Linked DNA regions of Homo sapiens: region 1 is linked to region 2. Evidence: promoter capture Hi-C in human tissues and cell types (Jung and others, 2019). All regions are on one chromosome and are shown on one strand. Each heading gives the region's core, a stretch centred on a gene start or on the middle of the fragment in contact. The rest is flanking DNA. Distances are from core to core; before and after follow the strand shown.

Region 1 (5,714 bases), core at 735-3,234, 150 kb after region 2:
CAGGAGGCTGAGGCATGAGAATGGCTTGAACCCAGGAGGCTGAGGTTGCAGTGAGCCAAGATCGCCCCACTGCACTCCAGCCTAGTGACAGAGTGAGACTCCATCTCAAAAAAAAAAAAAAAAAAAAGGTCTTAGAATAAAGTCTTGTCCTAGAAAGACAAGAAGAAATAGTGTACAGAGAAAGTGGTAAACAGGTAAGCAAATTGAAACATACTGGGTGTTAGCCTTATAAATATAATACTAATAGTGTTTACATCATGTGGCTAGTTCCTCCACCCACGGGAAATAATGAACAACAGTGTATAAATCAGAACGGGAAATACCAAAGTGAAAGCATTTTAAAGTCCTTTTAACATCATCGGTGCCGTTCTTTAAACAGAGTTAATGCATTAAAAATGCATAATAACTTCTGCACCTGCATGCAGCTGGTGCAATAGCAATGCCTATTTCTCTGTCCATCTGGAAGGAACTTGCAGAGGATGATGCAATACCATGACTATCATAGCTTCCAGTGCCTTGATGAAACCTCAAGGTTTTTGGCCTTTTGGCCAAGCATCTGCCATTTCATACTGTTGCAGCATTTGTTGTGTCCTAGGAGTTGCAACTATCTATAAGTTTGTTGTGGCTAAACCATGAAATAAGGCATATATAGATTTCTGCAGAAATTATAATTCTACAAATGATTTTGAAGAGATGAAAAAGGTTGGTATCTTTTGGAATGCAAAGTGATATTGGAATGTAAAGAATTTCTGGGGATTGTGTTCCATGGAAGTTTGTCACTGGCCTACGTTCCTGAACTGTGAAACATGAATATGTGGGCAAAGGAATAGTTTGTTTTGATAGATTAACAAATATGAAAAAAATGCATGATAAAATCAAGAGCTATAATTAAAACACTAAAATTGGAATATGTGCTTCCTAAGTAGTAGAGAAACAGGAAAAATAAGAACATGCAATCAATCAATAACCCCATTTAAAGGCCAAATATAAGGAATGGAGACAACACAGGGGCTGGGCACAGTGGCTCACATCTGTAATCCCAGCATTTTGGGAGGCCAAGTTGGGTGGATCACTTGAGGTCAGGAGTTTGAGACCAGCCTGGACAACATGGTGAAACCACATCTCCACTAAAAATACAAAAATTAAAAATTAAAAAGAACACAGAAAAGTGAACCAAATAAAAATCAAAAATTAAATGTAAGAAATTAGTCCAAATACTCAACATAGAAAATGCTAATGGACTAGACTTGCCAATGCAAAGAGAGAAACAGATCAAATTGTTTAAATATTTAGCTATATGTGTTTATAAGAGTTACACCTCAAGCATAAAGATATGGAATGGTTGAAAGTAAAAAAAAATATGAGGAAAATATATGTGAGAAAATGCTAATCAAGGGAAATCTAGTGTAGCTATATATATTTTTATTTATTTACTTTTAAATAAATAAACTATGAGGTAGGTACTAGAAGGTCAAATATGAAAACAACGTGATCCATGCCTGAAAAGATGTAGAGTTTAGTAAGGATAACAAACAAAGAAATGGATCATTTATTCCACTTTAGAACCAGACAAAAGAGGAAATTCACATTTTAGGAAGAATGTATAGTCCTGAAATATAACCAGTCTATTTTTATTTATTTTTCAAGACAGGGTAACCCTGTTGCCCAGGCTGGAGTGCAGTGGTGCAATCATAGCTCACTGCAGCCTCAAACACCTAGGCTCAAGCCCTCCTTCCACCTCAGCCTGTGAGTAGCTGGGTCTACAGGTACACACCACTACACGTGACTATGATGTAGCTATACTAATTTCAGCAAAATAGATTTTAAGACAAAAGCATCGGCCGGGCACAATGGCTCATGCCTGTAATCCCAGCATTTTGGGAGGCCAAGGCGGGCGGATCACGAGGTCAGGAGATCGAGACTATCCTGGCTAACACGGTGAAACCCCATCTCTACTAAAAATACAAAAAATTAGCTGGGCGTGGTGGCACGTGCCCGTAATCCTAGCTACTCGGGAGGCTGAGGCAGGAGAATTGCTTGAACCCGAGAGGCAGACGTTGCAGTGAGCCGAGATCGTACCGCTGCACTCCAGCCTGGGTGACGGAGTGAGACTCCCTCAAAAAAAAAAAAGACAAAAGCATCATTAGAGTTGAAGACAGTCAACACACAATGGTAAAGGTCCAATTCACTAGAAAATTTTAACAGTTCTAAGCATGTAATAACCTAATTAGATTCAAAATAACTCAGTATGTGGTAAAACAAAAACTGACAAAGTTACAGAGAGAAACTAACAACTCCATCATTACATTGAGAAGATACTAAACTTCCTCTCTCAATTGTTGCTAGGTCAAACAAATAAAAAAAGATCAATTATATATAGGTTAAAGATCAGAATTAGCAAGCTTTACATAACAGACTTATAGAGTTCTGTGTCCTAAATTTAAATGATAAACATTCTTCTAAGGTACACCTGGACCACTTGATAACATACTTGGCTATAAAGTAAGACAATTAATTTTTTAAAATAGGTATTGTATAGATATATTCTCTGGAAAAAAACAAAATTAAATTGGAAGTTATTAATAAAAAGATAAAGAAAGATGAATTATAGCTTTTGTTTATGAATAGGAAAACTGAATATCACAAAAATATCAGTTCAGCTCAGTACGTCTTTAGAATCAATGCAACCTAATCCATCAGGTTTCACAAACTTATTCTAAAATGTACAGGAAAGAGCAAAGGGCCAAGAATAACCAAGACTTTTTTTTTTTTTTTTTTTTTGAGACGGAGTCTTGCTCTGTCGCCCAGCCTGGAGTGCAGTGGCGCGATCTCGGCTCACTGCAAGCTCTGCCTCCCAGGTTCACGCCATTCCCCTGCCTCAGTCTCCCAAGTAGCTGGGACTACAGGCGCCCGCCACCACGCCCGGCTAATTTTTTGTATTTTTAGTGGAGACCGGGTTTCACCGTGTTAGCCAGGATGGTCTGATTTCCTGACCTCGTGATCCACCCTCCTCAGCCTCCCAGAGTGCTGGGATTACAGGCATGAGCCACCGCCTGGCCTAACCAAGACACTTTTGAAGAAAAAGATGGTAGACAAGAGGGAGAGGCTGCCCTGGATATATTCTAAAACTAAGGTAATTAAGACAACATAATATTGCACCTGCTCTACCACGTTTCAAAACTAATTCTAAAACTAGAGATGTGGGCGGATCACGAGGTCAGGAGATGGAGACCCTCCTGGCTAACACAGTGAAACCCCATCTCTACTAAAAATACAAAAAAAAAAAAAAACTTAGCCAGGCGTGGTGGTGGGCGCCTGTAGTCCCAGGTACTCGGGAGGCTGAGGCAGGAGAATGGCGCGAATCTGAGAGGCGGAGCTTGCAGTGAGCTGAGATCGAGCCACTGCACTCCAGCCTGGGTGACAGAGCAAGACTCTGTCTCAAAAAAAAAAAAAAAATTAAAATTAAACTAGAGATGTAGCCATTAATATGGCACAGCAATGGTTCAGAGTGGACAAAATAGAAACAAGAGCCAGAAACACTACCAGACACTATGAAACTGTGATACACTGTCATGCATTGCCTAATGATGGTGATACATTCTGAGATATTCATTATTAGGTAATTTTGTTGTTGTGTGAACATCATAGAGTACTTTCGCAGACCTAGATGGTATAGCCTACCACACACCTAGACTTTATGGCATAGCCTATTGCTCCCACGCTACAAACCTGTACAGCATGTTACAGGAAAGAGCAAAGGGCCAAGAATAACCAAGACTTTTTTTTTTTTTGAGACAGAGTCTTGCTCTGTCGTCCAGGCTGGAGTGCAGTGGCTCGATCTCGGCTCACTGCAAGCTCCGCCTCCTGGGTTCACGCCATTCTCCTGCCTCGGCCTCCCGAGTAGCTGGGACTAGAGGTGCCCACCACCACGCCCGGCTAATTTTTTTGTATTTTTAGTAGAGACGGGGTTTTACCATGTTAGCCAGGATGGCCTCAATCTCCTGGCCTCATGATCCGCCCACCTCGGCCTCCCAAAGTGCTGGGATTACAGGCATGAGCCACCACGCCCAGTCCATCATTGACCTAAACATCACTATGTGGTGAACAATTGTATTTTTCTTTTAATGGCACGGTAGATGAATAGGGAAAGGAAGGACAATTCAAAAAATAGAATTTAAAAATCCCACATAGATTGAAGGATAAAAACAATACTTTAAAAAACATCAAAAATACGTAGATAAAATGCCTGTCTCTGGTATTCATATAGGAAGAATTTCTTAAACAAGACCCATAAAAGTCCTAGCCATAAGATAAAGGATTGGTAAATTTAACTACATTAAAATTAAGATCTGTTCTTCAAAATACACCTTAAGGAAAGTGAAAGGAAAAGCTGAAAAGTTAGAGCATATATTTGTAACATTTATGACTGATAAAGGATTGGTATAAAAATATGTACTGAAGTCTTTAAAAAAAAAAGTCCCTCTCAAAAATAAATAATAAATAGAAAACAACCTATAGAACCTAGTAGAAAACAACCTAATAGTAAAGCATATGGAGAGATTTTTTTTAACAGGATTCAAATACATATGGCCACTAAACATATGAAGTGATTTCAACCTCATTAGTAATCAGGAAAATGCAAATTAAGCACACAAATAGATACCATTAACTATCCATCCATTTTTTACAGTTGAGGGAAAAACTAAAACATGACAGAGTTTATTCATCAATGGGAACTTTTATATACTGTTAGAAGGCATGTAAATTGGAACAGCCTCTTTGGAAAACAAGTCTGCATTATCTTGTAAGTATGAATATTCACATATCTTACAACCCAGTTGTCTTAGTCTGTTCAGACTGACACATTGAAATGAGACACAAAATATCACTGACTGGGTGATTTAAACAACAGAAGTTTATTTTCCCACAGTTCTGGAAGGTGGAAGTCTGGCAGCAGTTGACAGCATGGTCAGGTTCAGTGAGGGCTCTGTTCCTGCCTTGCACATGGCCACCTTCTCATCGTGTCCTCACATGAGACACACAGAAAGACTCTTCTTATAAGGCCACAGGCTTATTGGATTAGGGCCCCACTCTTAACAACCTCATTTAACCTTAATTACCTCCTAAAGACCCTATCTCAGATACAGTCATATTGGGGGTTAGAACTCAACACAGAATTTTGAGGAGACAAAATTCAGCCCATACCACTAACTCCCAGGTGCCCAAGAATACATATATAAAAGGATGTTTAAAGCACCAATTTTCATAATATCAACAAATTTAAGCAAGCCACATGTCCACCAACAATAAAATGGAAAATAAATTGTGGTATATTTATACAAAATACTATTATACATCAGTGAAAATGAAGAATGAGCTGCAGTTCTATGCAACAACATGAATACACATCAGTAAACTAAGGTTGAAAAGAAAAAAGAAAGTTCAAAAAATTACTACTTTCAGTATGATACACTTTTTATTGAGCTCAAAAACTAGCAAAATTCAACAATGTATTGTTTAGTCATGCATATATATTTGAAATAAAACTATCATTTTTATGCAAATGATGGATACAAAATTCAGGTGAGTAGTTATTTCTAGGGGTGGGGCAGTAAGGCAGTGAAATATTGATGGATATAACTCATAGTGTCTCAAAAGCCAATTGTTAAATTTTTTAGGACTTTCAAGAGCCCCTTGTCAAACCACTGGTAGCC
Region 2 (5,743 bases), core at 693-3,192:
AATAGAGAACATCTTACTAGGACAGGGAAGAATGAAGATGAACAGATATTATACAAAATGTTTAAACTGAACGTGGAGATATAAGAAAGAAAATTTCCAAAATGAGAAGTTGATTTTTATGAAGGAGAGAAAAATTACCATAAAAATAAAATGTATGCTTCATCATAAATATGAAAAAATATTTGAAAATATATATTTGTGTCTGTATTTGTAGGGTCTCATGACTTTATGAAAAAGCAACCTTTTTGGGTAATAGAAGTTGGGATTACAGCATAGAAAGACCAATATGCACCAAAGGGCATCAGCAAGATGGGGAAGAATGTTGCAGTGGCTGCTACAAAAATAGGGTTGCTGATACAGAAATTCCATGTTGATTGGTTGGGAATATGAGTAAAGAGAAACAGAAGATACAGAGTTTTAAAGTGAATGAAGGAACATAAGCAATTTATCTTGGGCAAGAAATGGCTCCTGAAGGAAATTAACTTTTATCTTATTTTTTTTTTTACTACTCCAGTGCTTTTTAGAAGTCTGAGGATACACAAAATAACTGCTCAATACATGGGAGAATCATCAAGCAGTCACAATTGTGCCCAGTTGGAATGGGCTGCAAATTGGTGACAGCACTATGAAAGAGATTCAGGAATTACAGGTCTACCTGAGCTAATGTGATGCTGTGACATTTTAAAATGATATTCTAGGATTCAGCATAGTAAATTAATCCACTATAGTCTATACTCTACACATCCATATGAAGATAATGCGTGAACTTTCTCAATAGATTGCTTTCACTCTGGAGTCTGCAAACACTTTGCTCTTTGCTTCTATGTATCTTAAGTATCCAATTGATGCCTCTATTAGAATTAAGAAAAAAGAGAAGCAAAAGTGTTTTTTTAAAAAAGTAGAGAGGAATGAATGAAAGGCAGAGGAATATGAAAGGCAGACCATACAGAGGGAGCCAAAAGAGGTGCTATAGCTGATAAGATAAAAGAGGGAATTTTTATTTCACATGTCAACAATTTAATTCCATTTTTATCAATGATATCTTCTTCTATGGAAGAAAATTAAGATAATTCAATGTTTTCCTACATCATTTAATATAAGGTTTATTTACTCTTGGAAACTTCCATTCTTTATTGCTCCTCAACAATAGCAACCACAAAAATTCCCATAATTCTCTCTTTAAAGATCAACCAAAATTAAGGAATAATGTATTTTTCTTTAAAGAATTTGCTCTCAAGCAGACTGAACGCTCTTGCACACATGCACTGCTGTCTCTTTCTCTCTCTCACACACACACCACATGCATACACACACACACACTGGCATCAAAGTCATGTGCTCATCCAGCCACATTATTTTCACACTTTTATTCTGAACTGAGATGCTTGAATAATTTCACGTCTGAATTAACTGATCAATATCATGCTATGTTAAGAACACCATGCAATTACATGTTTGAACTCTGAAGTCCTATCTTCCTTATCTTTGTACAGGGCTTTATTAAGTGGCATGGACCCAAGAATGAATGAATGCTTAAAATTTTAGAAAAGATAGATGTGTATAATAGAAATTCAGAGTCAGTTATACATGCTATTATGGCATGGAAGCAATGTGTTGGACAGAAATGCCATGAGCTTTGGAGACATACGGCCCTGGGATTAGATTCAGCTTTGTCACCAGCAATCTATGGAATCTTGGAAATTTTACATAAACTGTTCAACTCTTCATTACGTTATTTGTTTAAAAAAATACTTCACATGATTCTTGTGTTGAATAAGATGATGTACATGATAATACCAAGTATGGATCATAGAAATAAGTGAATGTTCAACAAATGATTATTTCCTTTAAAAAACTATACCTTAACTTCTAATACAAAAATGAGAAACAAACATTCCTGTATCAATAGAAAAGGGAAATTATTACCTGCAGATGAATGTACATCAGCAATAATAACAAATTGCAAAGAACTGTCACTGTATAGGAAGGTGATATTTATGAGATTTGGGGTCCTTTGGGATATAGCCTCTTGAGTACACTACTTGTTTATAAAAATTTCACTGAAAATTCATCAAGACAATGGAAATTACAGGTACATATGCTCATAAAAATATGTGTTGCTGCTGGGCATGGTGGCTCACACTTGTAATCCCAGCACTTTGGAAGGCCAAGGTGGGAGAATTGTTTGAGGCCAAGAGTTCAGACAAGTTTGGGCAACATAACAAGACCCCATCTCTACAAAAAAAAAATATAAATAAATAAAAGTAAAATTAGCCAGGTGTCATGGCTCATGCCTGTAGTCTCAACTACTCAGGAGGCAGAAATGGGAAGATTGATTGAAGTCAGGAGTTTGAGGCTGCAGTGAGCTAGAATTGCACCACTGTACTCCAGCCTGGGCAACTAAGCAAGACCTCAACTGAAAAAAAAAAGTCTAAAAACATCTGTAAATTTATTTATTTTTAGTATGCATTAGAATTTTTAAATAAAACTTTTTGATGAACTGCTAAATCCCCTGTAACTATATTGAGATTTATAGGAATAAGCAAGAGTACAGTGTACCAGAGTAATTTCTCTTCAAAATAAAAATTCTTCTGGGAAAAAATAAATGTTTATGTTTTCTGTATGTTTCTAGATGATACTACCTTTATTTTTTAATTAAACTTTTTACTTTGAGATTATTGTAGATTTACATGCAGTTTTAAGAAATGAAATTAATACAGAGAGATCTTATATGCCCTCTACCCAATTTCTTCCAATGAACGCATTTTGAAAAACTGTAGTGTAATATCACAACGAGGATACTGGCAGTGATACAGTCAAGATACAGAACATTTCCATGAGCACAATAACCCCTCACATTACTCTTTCATAGCCACAACAACTTCTGTCCCATCCCCATCCCTTCCTTAACTTCAGGAATCCTCTAATATGTTCTCTGTTTCTACATTTTTATAATTTCAAGTATTTTATTATTATGTAACATCCCTTTCTGCCTCTAGTAATTTTCTTTGCTCTGAAGTCTACGTTATTCAATATTAATATAGCTACTGCTTTTCTTTTGATTAATATTTACATGCTATGTCTTTTTCATTATTTTACTTTCTTTTTTGGATTTTGTTTTGGTTTTTTTGAGATGGAGTCTTGCTCTGTCACCCAGGCTGGAGTGCAGTGGCACAATCTCGGCTCACTGCAAACTCCACCTCTCGAGTTCAAGAGATTCTTTTGCCTCAGCCTCCCGAGTAGCTGGGATTACAGGCGCCTGCCACCACGCCCAGCTAATTTTTGTATTTTTAGTAGAGATGGGGTATCACCACATTGGCCAGGCTGGTCTCAAACTCCTGGCCTCGTGATCCAACCACCACAGCCTCCCAAAGTGCTGGGATTACAAGTGTGAGCCATCACACCTGACCCATTATTTTACTTTCAATTTGCCTCTATTATTATATTTGAAGTGACTTTCTTGTAGACAGCATAGAGCTGGGTCATGTGTTTTAGTTCACTTTGCTGGGTGAGGGCTCAAACAGAAACAAGGAACATGCTGTTTTGAAACTGGAGAAAAAGTTATCCTTGTTAGATAGTGACAGAAAGTCTAGCTTAATTTTGACCTACAGTTACATGGAAAGCAGAACTTGTAAGTGATGAACTTGGATGTTTAGATAAGCAGATTTACAAAGTTTTGAAGGTACAGCCTATTGTTGTTTACTCAATGTATTAAAATGTGAGAACAAATTACTTAAAGGTGAAGGACCCTCTTGTCTAATGATGTGAATAGTCATAACATACATGGGAGAACCAGGTTTTCAAAAATGATATAGTTTCAGAAACACCACCAGCTTGTGCTAAAGGGACAGAGACAGAACAAAATGAAAGAAGGCTGTAAGACTCATAAAATTCTACAAGCAGGAAAAGGCTGATAAAACTAATCAGCTACAAATATGTGCTACCTATCAAGAAAAAGAAAGGATAACTTCAAGAACAAACCCTTTGGCCCAAAAGCTGGAGCCTTGGGTCTAGGATTTAGAGCCATGGTGCAGAGGTTGGAGCAGTGCACACAGAAAATATTAGTCTCAGACCCAGAGCATGGAGCATTGAGTCACTAAGTGTTATTCATAGGCCTTGAAATGCCGTGTTTGCCCTGATGAACTTCAGAATTGCTTGGGTCTGATGACCTTTTCCCTCCTTCCACTTCCCCCCTTTTAGAATGTAAATGTCTATTACTGTTACATCATGATGCCTGTATCATCATTATATTTGGGGAACAGATATCTTGTCTTCTTGTTTCACAGGTCCACAGATGGAGAGAAATTTTGCCCCAGGATGGATCATACACAGTATCCTACCTATATCTGATTTAGGTAATTTAGATAATGAGATTTAGGACTTTCAAGCTGATGATATTTAGATGATATTTTGGGCTTTAGTTGATGCTGTGTTGGGTTGAGGCTTTTGAGGATTTGGAGGTGGGATGAACACATTTTACCGTGGAATGAACATAAATCACTGGGGGCCAGAGAGAAGACTGTAGCAGACTGAATAATGGCCCCCAAAGATATCAGGCCCCAATCCATGGAATCTATAAATGTTACCTTACTTTAAAAATGGCCTTTGCATATGTGATTAAGAATCTTAAAATGGAGTAATGGAGTGATTATCCTAGATTGTCTGGGTGGGCCCTAAAAGCAATCACAAGTATCATTATAAGAGAGAGACAGAGGGAGAATGTGACACAAACAGAGAAGGAGAAGGCAATGTGACCAAAGAGAAAGAGATTGGAGTGGTTTGGCCACAGCAAAGGAATGCCAGAAGCCAGCAGAAGCTGGAAGACACAGGAAATGGATTCCACCTTGGAGCCTCCAGAGGGAGTATGGCTCTGTTGCCACCTTGATTTTTGCCCAGTGATACTTATTTTAGACTTCTGGCCTCCAGAACTGTGAAATAATAAGTTTCTGTTATTTTAAGCTTCCAAATTCATAGTAATTTGTTACAATAGCCACAGGAAACTAATACACATGATAACAAATGATCACTCTCTCCAGAGGTCCCAGGGTATTTGTCAAATGAATTCATTTATTCATTCATTCCAAAATATGCACTGAATACTACTATATCCCAAGCTTCCTTGGGATGTAGTGATAAACAAATCAGAAAAAAAATCACTGAACTCATAGAACTTACATTCTAGTATTCTAGTGTTGGGAGATAACAATAAATCATATATATGAATGAAATAAGGAAGTAAACCATGTAAAGGTTTAGGGGGAAAGCTTTTCAAGGAGGTTTTACTCCCTTTAAATTTGAGTAATGCAAAATCCACGAGAAGAATAAGCCACTGAGGCTAGATCACAGTAAGCCAACATTCAAATGATTGTATGTATCTGGTACTAGCAAATTACAGGGGGAAAAGGTACTTTTATACATTATGAAAAATATATGAATTTTCTAAAAACTTTTGGAAAATATCGTGGCAAATTTTATTTAAAATTTCAAGTGCTGTACTCCAAAATTTCACTTTGAGGAATTAATCCTAGAGGTAATAATAACCTGAAAAAATACATATACAAAAAGATGTTCATCACATGATTGCTTAAACAGCAGAAAAATTGCAGTGTCTAGTGTGCATCAACAAAAGAATTGTTGAAAAAATGATGGCACCTTCATCCTATGGATTACTATGTGGACATTAAAAAGATAAAATGTCCCCATATGTTCAGCTTCTGAAACAAGCCCATGATATACTCTTACA

Evidence for each region. The method cuts DNA at HindIII sites, captures the fragments that hold promoters and counts their contacts. A contact is called where the count stands out against the background at its distance.
Region 1: a fragment that was not itself captured here is called in contact with the fragment with the promoter of OR5P3 in region 2 in 1 of the 25 tissues and cell types used here (aorta).

The regions. Positions count from the first base shown.
Region 1 is chr11:7,976,980-7,982,693 of GRCh38, forward strand. It overlaps the pseudogene COX6CP5. Among named protein-coding and RNA genes, the nearest start is that of EIF3F, 7.5 kb to the right of the region's middle. The HindIII fragment of the contact is 5,268 bases long and covers 1-4,618 here.
Region 2 is chr11:7,828,898-7,834,640 of GRCh38, forward strand. OR5P3 (olfactory receptor family 5 subfamily P member 3) reads right to left here and starts at 1,943. Exons shown (of 2, transcript NM_153445.2): 1 at 1,927-1,943. The HindIII fragment of the contact is 13,140 bases long and covers 1-5,743 here.